Linked DNA regions of Homo sapiens: region 1 is linked to region 2. Evidence: promoter capture Hi-C in human tissues and cell types (Jung and others, 2019). All regions are on one chromosome and are shown on one strand. The core of a region is centred on a gene start or on the middle of the fragment in contact, and the rest is flanking DNA. Distances in the headings are between cores, read along the strand shown.

Region 1 (7,804 bases), core at 285-2,784, 260 kb after region 2:
GTCTTTCATTAACAACCTGAAAGCTCAGGGGCCTGGTTAGTAGTCCATAAGACTCACTCCAGGACTAAGTAACATATTCTATCAGGAGGCATAATTAATTGAAAGCACAAAGGCATTCTGGGAAAATAAAATTACTAAACATGTTCACAACATCCTTTGTTGCCTTAAAGCTCGCTTTTATACAGTTTTGACTGATGTACAATTAGGAATCAAGAAGTGGAGGAAAAGGTATTAAGTTTAAATGAGGTAAGAGACTTCTTAGAGTAAAATGCCTTGTTTCCAAAAATCAACTATCACTTTTTCATCCTCAGCCTTTTAAAAAAATTTTTTTTTTAAATTTTTTTAATTAGAGACAGGGTCTCTGTCTGTCTGCCAGGCTGGAGTACAGTGGCACAATCATAGCTCACTGCAGTTCTGAACTTCTGGGCTCAAGTGATCCTTCTGCCTCAGCCTCCCAAGGTGCTGAGATTACAAGCGTGAGCCACCACACCCAGTACCTCATCCTCAGCCTTTACAATTACATTGCAGGTGTCTTTTCTCCACTTTCGCAAGCTTGATAACAATAATCTTTTCCTTCAAGTGCTGATCTCCAATAACTTAGGTTAGCTGAGGTATCAGTTTTAATGACTTTTCAGAAAGAACTACCTTAATAGGAAAAGTCAAGGTTTAAATAGACTCAGAGCCTTACAAGAATCTCTGGATTTGCTGATTTCATTATCTACTTCAAAGATTTTCTGACTGTGAAATGACTGAGATTTTTTAAAAGTGACTGTAGTGAAGAGGTATGGTTCCTTCTGAAGAATCTTGCTTTTCTTCTTCTCTGATACCTCTAAGTAACTGAGCCGCTGAAGTATTAAAAATCCTTTTAGAAGTTTAGATTTATTTTTTTAAATGTCTATAATCTATGCCATATGTGAAACTATTCTTGCTTGCCTTCTTGAAACCTCCAGAGGCAAGAAATAAAGAAATAAATAAATAATAAATAAATAAAGGACTCCAGAACAGTTGTTGAGGGATAGAGATGTCTCAATGTACAAAGCTTAGGTTTTAAAAGAGAAATAGCTATTCATGTATATCGAGAGGCCTAACTGATTGACTGCAAGTCAAATTCAGGAAAGAACTGATCCTGCAGGTCAGAGAAGAATCTGTGTAATTAAATTGAAATTGTTTCTTTTTTTCTTTTCTTTTCTTTTTCTTTACAAAAGATAAGAGCATTTAGTACTTTAAGAAAAGATATCTTATTTTGACCACTTGGTTCATTTAATTAAATTAGACTCCGATTTTAAAAATTGCTATTAAGATTGAAAAGGAGGCCGGGCGTGGTGACTCATGCCTGTAATCCCAACTTTGGGAGCCCAAGGCAGGTGGATCACCTGAGATCAGGAGTTTGAGACCAGCCTGGCCAACATGGTGAAACCCTGTCTCTACTAAAAATACAAAAATTAGCAGGGTGTGGTGGTTCACGCCTGTAGTCCCAGCTACTCGGGAGGCTGAGACATGAGAATTGCTTGAACATGGGAGGTGGTGGTTGCAGTGAGTCGAGATCGCACCACTGCACTCCAGCCTGGGAAACAGAGTGAGACTCGGTCTCAAAACAAACAAACAAATAATCAAACAAACAAACAAACTGAAAAAGAGTGCTATAGTGATTTTCTTGGTTGGCTATATCATCACTTTATGAAGCCTGGTTTTACTAATTCTGGGTGCATTTAGAAGTTGGCTTTAGATCTTAGAACACAGTCTATAATCTAATTTCAGTATGTAGCAATTAAAATTATGTCATCAAATGAGCTGTGGACCCAGATGAGCTTTATAATTGTATTACCTTTCAATAAGCATCATTAGTAAGTCCTAGGTTTATCATGAAATTGGTGCCTTGTAAATTTCAAAAGGCCATGTCGAAGCAGAGGCCAAGTCAAGGCAGCCTCTCAGGGCACAGAGTTCTAGTCAAGATTGCTAGCTAATGCACCAAACACTGAATATGCCCTAATAAAGCTTTTTTCTTTCTTTTAAAGTTATTTAGTCCAGTGTTTTTATTATCTCCTAACACTGAAGTATTTTCTAAAATTAAAAAATTTCACAAGAGTGCATACTAATATTTTTATGTGTAATTTTACATCTCAAATATTTTTTTCTTTTCTTTTCTTTTCTTTTTTTTTGAGATGGAGTTTCACTCTTGTTGCCCAAGCTGGAGTGCAATGACGTGATCTGGGCTCACTGCAACCTCCGCCTCCCGGGTTCAAGCAATTCTTTTGCCTCAGCCTCCTGAGTAGCTGGGATTACAGGCATGCGCCACCACGCCCAGCTAATTTTGTATTTTTAGTAGAGATGGGGTTTCTCCATGTTGGTCAGGCTGGTCTCGAACTCCCCACCTCAGGTGATCCGCCCACCTTGGCCTCCCAAAGTGTTGGGATCACGGGCGTGAGCCACCGTGCCCGGCCACATCTCAAATATTTTTCTAAGTAAATCAGTGGCTTGAAGTGATAGAGTGAGTGTATAATTAGATGGCCTACTGCCATTTGCAAAATAAAGGACATTTCGATGTAAATGCTGCTAAGCCACTCTAGTATTGTCAGGGCACCTGCATACACCCACTTTGGGGCTTCGGAGAATATATCAGATAGAGGAAGTGAAGGGTTCATGACCTACATATCCCCCTTACCCTATAGCTTAAAGACCTTCCAGGGAGGTCCACAGTTATGACCTCAATGATGGAAAGCACGATGGGACTCCATCAAAGGGGTGTAGCTGGAGAAGAAAAAAAATGGGTGTAGGGCCAGTGGATAAACAAGATAAAAAGGCTAAGTGGAAAACTGGAAAATAATTGTTTAAGACAATGGCTGTGTTTGCACTCCAGATGGTAGGTGCACTTTCAGAAAGGTGGCCTGGCCAAGCTCCCCAGAGAAGGGGTGCTCAAGGCACAACCCTTTAAGGTTCTGCCTACCTTAACTACTTTGGAGACCTTTGCAGCATCATGAGACTGGACACTAGGTGGTGCAATTCATCTCCTCTAGGACCCAAAGAAGAGGAAAGGAAAGGAGTAGAAAAGAAATGAAGGAGAGGAAAGGGAAAAGTTACAGAGAATGGGGTTGAAGGGAAAGAACATTAGAAGCGAAAGAGGGAAAATAAGAGATAGGAGGATAAATGTGAGAAAGAAAGAAAAAGTACATCACAAAAAATCCTCAAAAGTAGTCACCAGCAAATGATTATGGAAAATGACTTACCCAGCCGCACAAGATACTGTATCGTCAGAAGAATCATGTTTTCCACGCTCAGAAATTGGCTGCCGGTCAACCCTAATTTTTCCAAATCTTTGTTTTCCAACTGTGGAATCTTGTAGCAATTCACCAGCAGAGGACTCACAACAATGTCACCAACATTTCCATAGAAATAGGGTAAAGTGCCATAGCCTGTCCCAATAGAAGCAGGTCAGTACAGTTCAACATTTCTTTTTATGGTCCAACCAGGTACACTTGCTCAACGACGATCAAAGCTGCTTAACAAAATTCCCTGCCCTCTGAGATAGCTACCAAACAAATCACTCAAACATATCAATCCCAGGGAATTCACTTGGATGCTCCAAATTCTATCCTTATATTAAGTTAAATGAACAGGAAAGAAAATACAGTTGGCCCTCTATGTCTGTGGGTTCCACGTTCAATCAACCGTGGACTGAAATAGTCAGAAGAAAAAATTCCACAAAGTTCCAAGAAGTGAAACTTGAATTTGCTGTGGGCTGAGTAGTACACTGAATTCATGTGAATGACGTGATGTGTAGGCACTGTATTAAGTATTACAAGCAATGGAGAGGTGGTTTAATGTATATGGGAGGATGTGCATAGGTTATATGCAAATACTGTGCCATTTTATATGAGGGACTTGAGGATATTCGATTTGATATGGGACGGGGCCTGGAATCAATCCCCCAGGGATACTAAGGGACAACTGTACTCATATTATCTCTGTTTCTCATGGAAGGAACATGTTAATATTTTGCTGGAAGACTGATGAGTTTGCAAAACATGTCTGTATCCTCTGTAAAACTGCAATGATAAAATATTTCTGATAAAGTCCCTGATCAAGTTTATTTTCAGATAAGAAATCAGAAAACAAACAAATGACAATATGGCTGGGCAAGGTGGCTCACGCCTATAATCCCCGCACTTTGGGAGGCCCAGGCGGGTGGATCACCTGAGGTCGGGAGTTTGAGACCAGCCTGGCCAACATTTTCACCTTTAGTAGAGGCGAAACCCAGCCTCTACTAAAAGTACAAAAATTAGCCAGGCATGGTGGCATGCAACTACATGGGAGGCTGAGGCAGGAGAATCGCTTGAACCCAGGAGGCAGAGGTTGCAGTGAGCCGAGATCGCGCCACTGCACTCCCGCCTGAGCCACAGAGAGAGACTCCGTCTCAAAAACAAAAAACACTGGCCAGGTGGGGTGCAGCTCACGCCTATAATCCCAGCACTTTGGGAGGCTGAGGCAGGCAGATTGCTTGAGGTCAGGAGTTGAGACCAGCCTGGCCAACATGATGAAACCCCATCTCTACTAAAAATACAAAACTAGGCTGAGCGTGGTGGTGCACGCTCGTAATCTCAGCTACTCAGGAGGCAGAAGAATCACTTGAACCCAGGAGGCGGAGCTTGCAGTGAGCAGAGATTGTGCCACTGCACTCCAGCCTGAGTGACAGAGCAAGACTCTGTCTCAAAAAACAATGACAAAAAACAAAAACAGAAACAAATGACAATACATGTTTCACTTCCTGAGATTTCCTTTCCTTTCCCCTTTCCTTTCCTTTCTGACACTATCCACCTGGAGATATTCCTGAGATTTTCTTTAAAAAAAAAAAAAAAAAGTAAGCTAAATTCATTGATTAATAGCAAGATTCTTCTAGTTTCAGGTGCTTGGAGATCCCTGTTCCTTTGTTATCTTAGCTATTTTTGTGAGGTTGTCTTCCTAAATGTCAGTAAACAGTCTCAAATTGTTTTGAAATAGATAGGATAAAATATGTCCAAAATATGCTCTGTTTTGGTGGTTGATGGAGAGGATAGTCCCTCTGTGAGACTTTCTAAAAGGCAGGCACCAAAGGACCAAAGGGTCCCACGTTCTATGCATCTTTCCAAAGCTTAGTGGCACTATGTTAATGTTCAAAAAGAGCTTCCTAATCTATACAGCATTTAAGCAACTGGGATCCCCTCAGTACCTACAGATCTAGGATTAGCAGATAAAGCAACCAGGTAAAGGACATGACTCCAAGCAAAACCATCCAATTAGGCAGGCTCAGGCCAACCCAAAAAGCAAATAACACTGCATGTAAACACACCCTAAAGATGTGGGGAACTTAAACACCCTATCTATTTTGTCCTTAAGGTAGAGCAAGCAGTCTCCTTCTGGCCTAGGCCAGCCCTAAACCAAGGAGTCTCCTGAAATGGGTATGAAAAGCACTAAGTTAGTCCTGGAATGTAGGGACCCCTAAATGTCTATACCTCCACTTGTAGACCACCTGGAAGGACTCAGCCTCCTCAAAGATGCTAAGGTTCAGACCTGCAACTGTAGGGCCTCTTGGTTCTCTTGAGTAGGGTCTTTCAGCTGGCTTGGCTTGTTTCATTTCTTTGTGGTTTGGCTCCCTTTGACTGGAATGTCTCCTCCCTGACCTTGTCCACTTTGACCAACCTTCAGGACCCAGCTTAACCAACACCTCTGGGAAGTCTTCTCAGATCCCTCCAGGCAGAGGTAAGCCCTCTCTCAGAGCTCTGAGTTCTGGTTGCTCCTGGTTGTGAACCTCTAAGGAGCTCACATGTCACAGTGTGCTATAATGGTATCGCCCATGTGTTGTAATGCTTATTTACCAACGCTGGTGGCTCATGCGAGGTGAGACTCCCCCACTAAACAGTGCTCCTTGAGGGCAAAAAGACTTTGCCTTATCCTCAGCTCCTAATCACATGTTTAATATAGCATGAAAGAGCTGACCAATAAAAGCTGACAGAATCAACAGATGGATGAATATCTTCATGAATACATGAAAAAACACAATGAAATGGAAAAACACTCCTAGATTCCAGCAGACACAGGCAACTTGGAATTCCATTACCTTACCTATCAGAATTACTGGTCTAACTCCTGAGTTACTCAGCAGGTTTTCAGGAACAATTACAGTTTCCCCTGCAGGAATGGGCCTGGGTTGTAAAATTCCAGTTAGTGGGGTCTGTGGAACTGGGGCAGATAAAAGGGGCTCTGGAAAAAAAAAAGTTTGACAAGAAAGATGGCGTGAAAACTAAATGAAATACAATAGAAAGCAATGCAGTTTTAATACTTTTAACAGAGAAGCATTAGAAATCTAATGGTTTGTTGTGTTTTTCATTAGGTTTATTGTGTAAAGTGATAAGTGAAAAAAACAAAAGGAGAAAAAAAATTAACCATAATCATAACATGTGGCTACAACTACTATTTAGCATTTTGCTGATTTTCCTTCCAGTTGTTTTTTCCATATGCAATATTTTGGATCCTGTTTGGTATCTTAGCTTTCCCCCCAAGATTATCAAAGGCATATATCTGTTCATTACATACATTTTGAAAGGTATAGAAAAGTGTGAAGAAGGATGAACTCATCATTAACCAGTACTACCTACAAGCAACCATAGTGACAGACTGGCATAATTATTTGTGTATATAAGATGTCTATGTAGTCTTTAAAACTATTTATTTAAACAAACATTTAAATAACTCATTTATGTCTTAAAACCAGTATATTTACAATTGTCTGTGGTTTGTTCAGCAAGGTAGACAAATGTTTGAACTGTGGATACCAAATGGCTACAGTTAGGTGTTCTGAAAGAGAGCCAGTTGGTTTTGGTTTTTCAGGTTTCTAGCCACAGACTGAACCATCCAGGTCAGAAATAATAAGCGTGGGTCACATAAAGAACCAGATAACAGCAGGGAAAATCTAACACCACTACTAGCAAAACAAGTCCATATATGCTCTATGATGGTGGGTTGGTAGCATTGTGTCCCATATAACGAATGGCTTTTCAATGCTATGGGTTGAAATTAAGCCAAAGGTTGAATTCAGATCAGTTGTAATGATCTTGTGCATGTAGGGAAGGCAAATGTGATCGGGACAAAACATTAGCTACTATCAATATCCTCATATAACTCATTGTCAAGAATTCAGGGAAAGAATGGAAGTAGAAGATATCTCTGCTAATTAAAAACACACTTACAATCCATCTTCTGTTAAAATCTTACCCGTTCTTGAAAGAGGGCGAACTGTAGGGACAGGTACAACTAAGCCAGGTTGGGGGAGAGGTGACCCAGGATACCATCCCCGGTGTCGTTTCTTTGGTGGCCCAGAAATGAACATGGTAGCTGAAGACAAACAAAAAAACAAAAAAAAGAGATAGTCTTGTTCTCAGCCATGTGGAAGAAAGGAAAGAACGCCAGAGTAATATAAGTAATACAGAACCTTTAATTTGATTATACTCAGAAAGTCTAAATCACTCCTTTAGAGGTAAAGTTTAAAAAAAAGCCACATTAGTAACCTAACATTACAATAACAGCCACTTAACATCTGTATGTTGTTTTACAGTTCCCAAGTTTATGTAGGTTATTTCATTTGATTCTACCCACAACCTTGTGGAGTTGTAGGGCAAATATTGTTGTTATACCCATTTTGTAAAAGGAGAAAGGAAAGTTCAGATTTGTTCAGGATCACACAACAGAGAACTTTGAATCCTGTACTTTAATCAGCTAAACCCATGGTTTTTCAAGACACTTCCTTATACATTTGTTTCAACATTATTTCCCA
Region 2 (7,848 bases), core at 909-3,408:
CTGCCCACCAGTACTGCCCCGTCAGCCCCACACTCCTCAGCCCTTGGGCGGTGGATGGAACCCGGCTTGGCAGAGCAGGGGGCAGCGCTCGTGGGGGAGGCTTGCCCCGCAGGAGCCCACAGTGGGGCGGGGGGTGCGGCTCAGGCATGGCGGGCTGCAGGTCCTGAGCCCTGCCCCGTGGGGAGGCAGCTGAGGCCCAGCAAGAATTCCAGTGCAGCGCTGGCGGGCTGGCACTGCTGGTGGACCCGGGGCACCCTCCACAGCTGCTGGTCTGGGTGCTAAGCCCCTCACTGGCCAGGGCCGGCGGTGCCAGCCGGCGCTCAGAGTGCAGGGCCCGCCGAGCCCACACCCACCCGGAACTCCCGCTGGCCCGTGATCGCGGGGCACAGCAGCCCCGGTTCCCGCCCACGCCTCTCTCTCCACACCTCCCTGCAAGCAGAGGGAGCTGGCTCCGGCCTCAGCCAGCCCAGAGAGGGGCTCCCACAGTGCAGCAGCGGGCTGAAGGGCTCCTCAAACGCGGCCAGAGTGGATGCCCTGGCCTGAGGAGGTGCTGAGAGCGAGCGAGGGCTGCTAGCACGTTGTCACCTCTCACCAGCACTTTGGGAGGCCGAGGCGAGTGGATCAGGAGTTCCAGACCAGCCTGGTCAACATGGTGAAACCCTGTCTCTACTGAAAATACAAGATTAGCTGGGTGTGGTTGTGCATGCCTGTAATCCCAGGTACTCGGGAGGCTGAGGCAGGAGAATCACGTGAACCCGGGAGGTGGAGGTTGCAGTGACCCGAGATCTCGCCATTGCACTCCAGCCTGGGCAACAAGAGCAAAACTCTGTCTCAAAAAACAAAACAAAACAAAACAGAACAAACTTAAACTGAAATACGCATGCATTTATTGGTAGGTAGTGCAGAAGGCTGGTGCAGGGGTTATGAAGAATGCTATGAAGTTTCAAGTATGGCAACCAGCATATGCATTCACGTTTGCTATGTGTGCTCAGGTGTGAGAGCCAGAGCGTGAAAATTACTTCTGCTCACGGGGAGTCCAGTATATACACTATCTTGTCCTCTCGGGAACTCTATAAAGTAGAAATTGTTACGCTACAGATTATTAAAACAAGAAAAAAACAGGCTCAGTAAAGGTAATTGAATTATTTTGGGTGCTGCAGCCAACCACCAAGTTGCAATGACCAAATCGGAGCCAAATAAATTGCTCACTTCTGGTCCGTCTCATGTCCCCATCTAAATTACATCATTAATTTACAATCCTTTGGCATTTTTCATAATCTAGACAGCACTTTCCCTTCTTTCGTCTGTTTAAGTCTTGCCATTCTTCCTACCTCTCTGAGGAAGGAGTTCATAAGAGTAGGAATAGGCTATTAAATTCTAACCATTTCAGATAACCATAAGTATCCTGATTTATCATATTGCCATAAATAAGCCTAGGAGACCCTACTTCATAAATGGTTTCTTGTCTGTACATTAGGTAATCGGTGTGAATTTCCATAAGTCTCTAAATTCAAAGCATTAATGAACCACAAATAGGCTTTTAACAATTGAATCCCGGTTGCTATTCTTGACCTTTTCATTTATTTTCAGAGACCACTTCTCATTTAAGTGACACTTAGCAACTAAAAAGATTCACAGAGTGATTCAGAGTCGAGTATGATGTCCTCACTGTTGAATGCTCATAGAATATTTTTTCTCTTTCCATAGTCTTGAGGACCAACGCAAACGTCTAGAGGATGTGGGATTCTTACCTGCTAACATATCTTTGGCATTAACTCCCCAAATCTTTGAATGCAAGGCACGCTTACCTGACACCCTAAACTGCTAGTTTAGGGACACCCGCCGCAGAGCGGAATCGTTCAAGGTCACTGGGGCTGCAGGTGCGGGGCCTTAACCAGCGCTGCCGATCCGTCAGCTCTCGGCCCACCCTTGGGGATCCCCATCGCCCACTGCGACCTAGCTGGGAGAACCCAGTCCGCCCGCCCTCCCGGTGGCCGGTCTTGGAACCGCGCTTCTGGAAGGTTCCTGAGTGGCTGGCAGTGGGGGCGGCTCCAGGAAGCCGGGGCGGAGCGGGCGGCGTTGGAGTCTCGGGCTACGCCTCCCTGGGCCGCTCCGCCCCGCCCGTTGTCGGAAGCCGCGCTCCGCCAGGCAGGAGACACTGTGGTCGGGAGTAGGCAGCGGCGCCGCGTCCGCTCTCGCCCGCTCTCGCCCGCTCGCCAGCCGGCTCTCCTCCCGCCGCAGGACCCGCGCGCCGCGCTCGGGGGCCATGCAGCGCCTGGCCATGGACCTGCGGATGTTGTCCCGGGAGCTCTCCCTCTACCTGGAACACCAAGTCCGGGTGGGGTTCTTCGGCTCGGGGGTGGGCTTATCCCTTATCCTGGGCTTCAGCGTCGCTTATGCCTTCTACTACCTGAGCAGCATTGCCAAGGTGAGCCGGGGGTGGCGCAGGGCCGCGGGCTGCTGGGCCAGGAGCTAGGGTAGCAGGCGCGGCGCGAGGCTGCGCGGCCAGGGGCGGTCGGCAGCCCCGGGGATAGGCGGCGAGCTGCTCCCGAGCGGCAGCCCCCAGCGCGCGCGGGAAAGCCAACAGGCCCCGCCCGTTCGCCCGCCCCCTGGGGGTCCCGGCCGGGTGGTCCTCGGAGCGCAGCCTGAACCCGGCTGACTTCTGCGCTGCGGCGCTGCCCGGTCACCGATCGCGAAGCCGGCGGCGCACTCGGGAACGCCGTGGCGCTTTTGAAAATGACTCCGGGCAGGGCACGGTGGCTCACGCCTGTAATCTCAGCACTTTGGGAGCCCGAGGCGGGTGGATCACCTGAGGTCAAGAGTTCGAGACCAGCCTGACCAAAATGGTGAAACCCCGTTACAATTACAAAAAATTAGCCGGGCGTGGTGGCGGACGCCTGCAATCCCAGCTACTCGGGAGGCTGAGGCAGGAGAATCCCCTGAACCCGGGAGGCGGAGTTAAAAACAAACAAACTCCCTTATCGCGATTCTCGCCTTCCCCTCGGGGCATTGGCGAAACCCCCGTTTCAGTCCTCTGTGACTGTGAATTTTTTGCGTCAGCCCTCCAGAAAGAGTTGTAATCGGAGGAAGCGCGCGCGCGAGCGACAAGTCTTTGCCGGTTTCTGGTTTACGGTTGGCAGAAACTTTGCTCTGGGCCCTTCTCTGATACTGCTTTTCCCTTCAGAAACCCCAGTTAGTGACCGGGGGTGAGAGTTTCAGCCGCTTCCTTCAAGACCACTGTCCCGTGGTTACAGAAACGTACTACCCGACGGTCTGGTGCTGGGAGGGTCGAGGACAGACCCTGCTTAGACCTTTCATCACTTCGAAGCCCCCGGTGCAGTACAGGAAGTAAGTGAATTTCCGTTTTCAGTCATTTCTGCAAAATCACAGGTTGTTTGTTTGCTTGCTTGCTTATTCCCAGTTCTTGGTTAATAGAATCTGCTTTAGGAAGTATATAGAACAGAAAGAGGGAATGAAAATGGAAGGTACGTCCCCGGCTCCACCCCCAGCTGCAGGAAAATACCCCAGCTGCAGGTATTTGCCTCCTGGTCCCCGCCCTAACCGCCAACCTGATGTAAATGGTTTATTTTTAGGATGAGAGAAGTGTTTGGGGATTACTGTCTCGCAGTTTGTCATACATCTGTCAGAAAGACCCAGATCTTTTGATGATCTGCATTCATTCATTGATAAGTAGCAGATACTGGGGGGGGGGGTGGGGTGAGAAGGATGCCACTTAATTTGGGTTTTGGGCGATTTATTGGTGTAAAATGACTTCCTATTGACAGGCAAATGGGATCTTGATGATAATAGCTCTTGATGTGTTAAAGATACGGTCCAGGATTTATCAGGAACCAGATTTAAATGGTGCCTGTTATTAATTTCCCTTAGTCATCTATCCTTCTGGAGTTTATTTTGTTGCCTGGAACTTGCACTGTTTGTTTGGGAAAATTCTGTAAGTTCATGAATACTATGTGAGAAATAATTTAAATTATTTCAGAAGAAAATCTTGAAGTATACTATACAAGGAGACTGCATTATTGAGTCCAAAGAGCTAGAGCAGTGGTCAGAGATTAGATCAGCATTTTACTTACTCAGACTTCCCTGTCGCATTAGTTGAGTGACCTCAATCAAACAAGGGTTAAATGCTGGATGTTTTGGAGTAATGAGTAAGTATTCATTTATCTTAATAATTAGCAGTTCATTTTTATATACGACCTTGTACGGAGGTTGCTGGAAATACTTGATGGTACTAATCTTCATAAAATCCTTCTAATGAAAGAAAATGATATGTAGATCGAGATATGGGTGTGTGTTCGTGAATGCTGGAAAAATGTTATTTTTTGATGAGCAAATAATGTCATGTGTTTAGAATTAAAATTAAGACATGACTTAAAACATGTAAATAGTAATGTCTTCTGAATTATTCCTTTCAGTGAACTTATTAAAACTGCAGATGGAGGACAGATTTCACTGGACTGGTTTGATAATGATAACAGTACGTGTTATATGGATGCCAGCACCAGACCTACTATCTTATTGTTGCCTGGCCTCACGGGAACAAGCAAGGAGTCATATATCCTTCATATGATCCATCTTAGTGAAGAATTAGGATACAGGTACCAGTAAAAGATTTCTTTTTTTTCACTTGATCCATTCCAAATGAAGTACAAATATATCTACATGTTTGTTTCAGAAATACTTAGTACTTCTTGCATAGAAAAGCAGTCCCTTAAATTATTATTTTTCTCTGCATTCTTTTTTTCCTCTTTCTTTTCAGGAAGATGCATAACTGAATCATCTCACAAGAAATGTCACTTAGCATAGTAGACACTCTGCAGATTTAGGCTGAGTTAATGAATGAAATTAGAATCATCTGAGCATTGACTGAGCCCTTCCCCCCATCCCCACCCCAATGGAGAGTGTGTTATGGAGGGAGAACAGCAATTACAGACCCCTGAGAGAGTACACAGTGGCCGTCATGCCACATTCTGGGGCCTGGATTCACTAATCTTGTCGCCCTGGCTCAGCTCCCAAGTGCAAAAAATATTCAGAATCAGCTTGTAGGTTGTCCCTATTTATCAAAGGTGATCTCTGCCTCTTCTGACCACCTGAGTTTGCAGGTGCACTTGGCTAGTCTCCAGTTGTTGATGCCACAGCTTTTCTGAGTAACCATTATTAAGCTCAGTCACCAGGTACAATTTAATTTTTTGCAAGTGATTAGCAACTTTGAGTTTCAAGTTCAGCTCTAGAATCTTAGAGTCATTATAAAAGGTACTGCTTTTTTGTGCCTCAGCTTTTTTTTTTAGCTGATAATTATTGTAATGGAACACTCTGTGAGTTGTATTTAAAGTAGAGTTGTATCTTTTGTTAAACTTGAAACACTTGTGTGAAAAGCTGATGGTAAGTTTACCTTAAAAAAATAATTTTAGGCTGGTCACAGTGGCTCATGCCTGTAATCCCAGCACTTTGGAAGGCGTAAAGCCGGTGGATTGCTTGAGCCCAGGAGTTCGAGACCAGCCTGGGCAACATGGTGAGACCTAGTCTACAAAAATTAGCAGGGCATGGTGGCATGCACCTATAGTTCCAGCTACTGACAAGGCTGAGGTAGGACGATCAGTTGAGCCCGGGAGGTAGAGACTGTAGTGAACCATGATCGTGCCACTGGACTCCAGCCTGGATGACAGAGTGACACCTTGGGCAAAAAGAAAAAAAAAAAAAAGGAAAGAAGAACATTTTGATGTTTGATGTAAAGGGGAAAATTCCATGATAGCTAACTTAATTTTAACAAGTTAATTCTGATCTTTTATAAATAATAGCCTATTTTGTCCATGAAGTAACATTCTCTCAAGAACTATGATGTTCAAGAATTATATTCAAGAAATTTGCTTAGCAGTAGCAGGAATTCATCATTATTCCATGTTTAAGCACCATACAGTTAGATGTGAGGCTTGGTTCCTTTTTTTTTTTTTTTTTTTTTTTGAGGCCAAATCTGGCTCTGTTGCCCAGCATGGAGCGCAGTGGCATGATCATGGTTCACTGCAGTCTCTTACAGGCGTGAGTTAATGCTCCCAGCCTGGTTCCATTTTTTTTTTTTTTTTTTTTTTGGCTAAAACTTAGTCATGCTCAGAAAGTACAGAAGATCATAATGCCTTTTGTACATATTTAAATTACTGCTTCTAGATTTGGCCTGAGCTGTCTCTCAAGACTTAGAACTGCTTTTAAAAACAACGTGGGCCAGGTGCAGTGGCTGACGCCTGTAATAACAGCACTTTGGGAGGCCGAGGCAGGTGGATCACTTGAGGTCAGGAGTTCAAGACCAACTTGGCCAACATGGTGAAACCTCGTCTCTACTAAAAAATACAAAAATTAGCCAGGTGTGATGGTGGGCACCTGTAATCCCAGCTACTCAGGAGGCTGAGGCAGGAGAATTGCTTGAACCTGGGAGGCAGAGGGTGCAGTGAGCCAAGATTGTGCCATTGCACTCCAGCCTGGGCAATAAGAGCAAAACTCCGTCTCAAAAAAAATAAAAACAAAAAAATTTGGGCCAGGTACAGTGGCTCACGCCTGTAATCCCAGCACTTTGGGAGGTCAAGGCGGACAGATCACAAGGTCAGGAGTTCGAGACCAGCCTGACCAACATGGTGAAACCCTGTTTCTACTAAAAATACAAAAAAATTAGACAGGTGTGGTGGCACATGCTTGTAATCCCAGTTATTCGGGAGGCTGAGGCAGGAGAATTGCTTGAACCTGGGAGGCAGAGGTTGCAGTGAGCCAAGATGGCACCACTGCACTCCAGCCTGGGCGACAGAGCGAGACTCTGTCTCAAAAAAATAAATAAATAAAAATAAATAAATAAAAACAATGTGGTTGAAACTCAAGGACTGAGTCTTATAAGCTCTGGAGTTGCCAGTGCACATACCTTTTGTCCATTGCTTATAAAGGTTGCCAGATTTTAGCCGGGTGCAGTGGCTCACAGCTGTAATCCCAGCACTCATCCACAGGCTGAGGCATGCGGATCACAAGGTCAGGAGTTCGAGACTAGCCTGGCCAACATAGCGAAACCCCATCTGTACTAAAAATACAAAAATTAGCCAGGCATGGCAGCGCGTGCCTATAATCCCAGTTACTCGGGAGGCTGAGGGAGAATCGCTTAAACCCGGGAGGCGGAGGTTGCAGTGAGCCAAGATTGCGCAATTGCACTCCAGCCTGGGCAACAAGAGCGAAACTCTATCTCACAGACACACACACAAAATTACAAAAGCAGAAGCTGCAGGGCCTCTTGAGGCCCAGGCTGAGAACTCCCACAGTGCTACTGGTCAAAGCAAGTCACATGATCAGCCCAGAGTCAAAGTGTAGGGAAATAGACTCTGCCTCTTGATAGGAAGAGCTTCAAAATATTTTTGCAACCTACCACAGAAAGCCAGGTAGTTTTAAAGACCACTAAGAATAAAAATAGATCTGGAAGTTTGGCGCAAGGCTGAGTTGAGTCTTTAGGTACCAAAATGATCTAAGTCATTGGTACTGTAGCATGGGATCTAGCAGATAACAGGGTTTGTGAAAAGCTGTGTAATATGACGGAATGTGTTTGGGCTTTGGAATCAAGCTGGATTCAAATGTTCGAACTGCCACTTTCTAAGGGACCCTGGCCAGTTAATTTAAGTTCCCTCATCACAGCGTTCTCATCTACTTCACAGGGTTTAGTTAGAGTGTGTAAAGTAGGCCAGGTGTGGTCGCCCATGCCTGTAATCCCAACACTTTGGGAGGCTGAGGTGGGTGGATCACTTGAGGTTAGGAGTTCGAAACCAGCCTGGTCAACGTGGTGAAACCCTGTTAACCAGGCATAGTGGT

The links. The method cuts DNA at HindIII sites, captures the fragments that hold promoters and counts their contacts. A contact is called where the count stands out against the background at its distance.
Region 1: a fragment that was not itself captured here is called in contact with the fragment with the promoter of ABHD3 in region 2 in 1 of the 25 tissues and cell types used here (IMR-90 fibroblasts).

The regions. Positions count from the first base shown.
Region 1 is chr18:21,439,830-21,447,633 of GRCh38, reverse strand. It overlaps GREB1L (GREB1 like retinoic acid receptor coactivator), which reads right to left. Exons shown (of 33, transcript NM_001142966.3): 9 at 7,246-7,365; 10 at 6,097-6,234; 11 at 3,225-3,410. All of the region lies in intron 1 of GREB1L-AS1 (GREB1L antisense RNA 1), which reads left to right. Among named protein-coding and RNA genes, the nearest start is that of GREB1L-AS1, 7.3 kb to the left of the region's middle. The HindIII fragment of the contact is 4,052 bases long and covers 1-3,560 here.
Region 2 is chr18:21,699,084-21,706,931 of GRCh38, reverse strand. ABHD3 (abhydrolase domain containing 3, phospholipase) reads left to right here and starts at 2,158. Exons shown (of 9, transcript NM_138340.5): 1 at 2,158-2,428; 2 at 3,185-3,348; 3 at 4,434-4,616. The coding sequence starts at 2,267. It also overlaps a transcript of MIB1 not described here. RefSeq lists enhancers at 1,751-1,820, 3,281-3,430 and a silencer at 1,991-2,760. The HindIII fragment of the contact is 17,143 bases long and covers 1-7,848 here.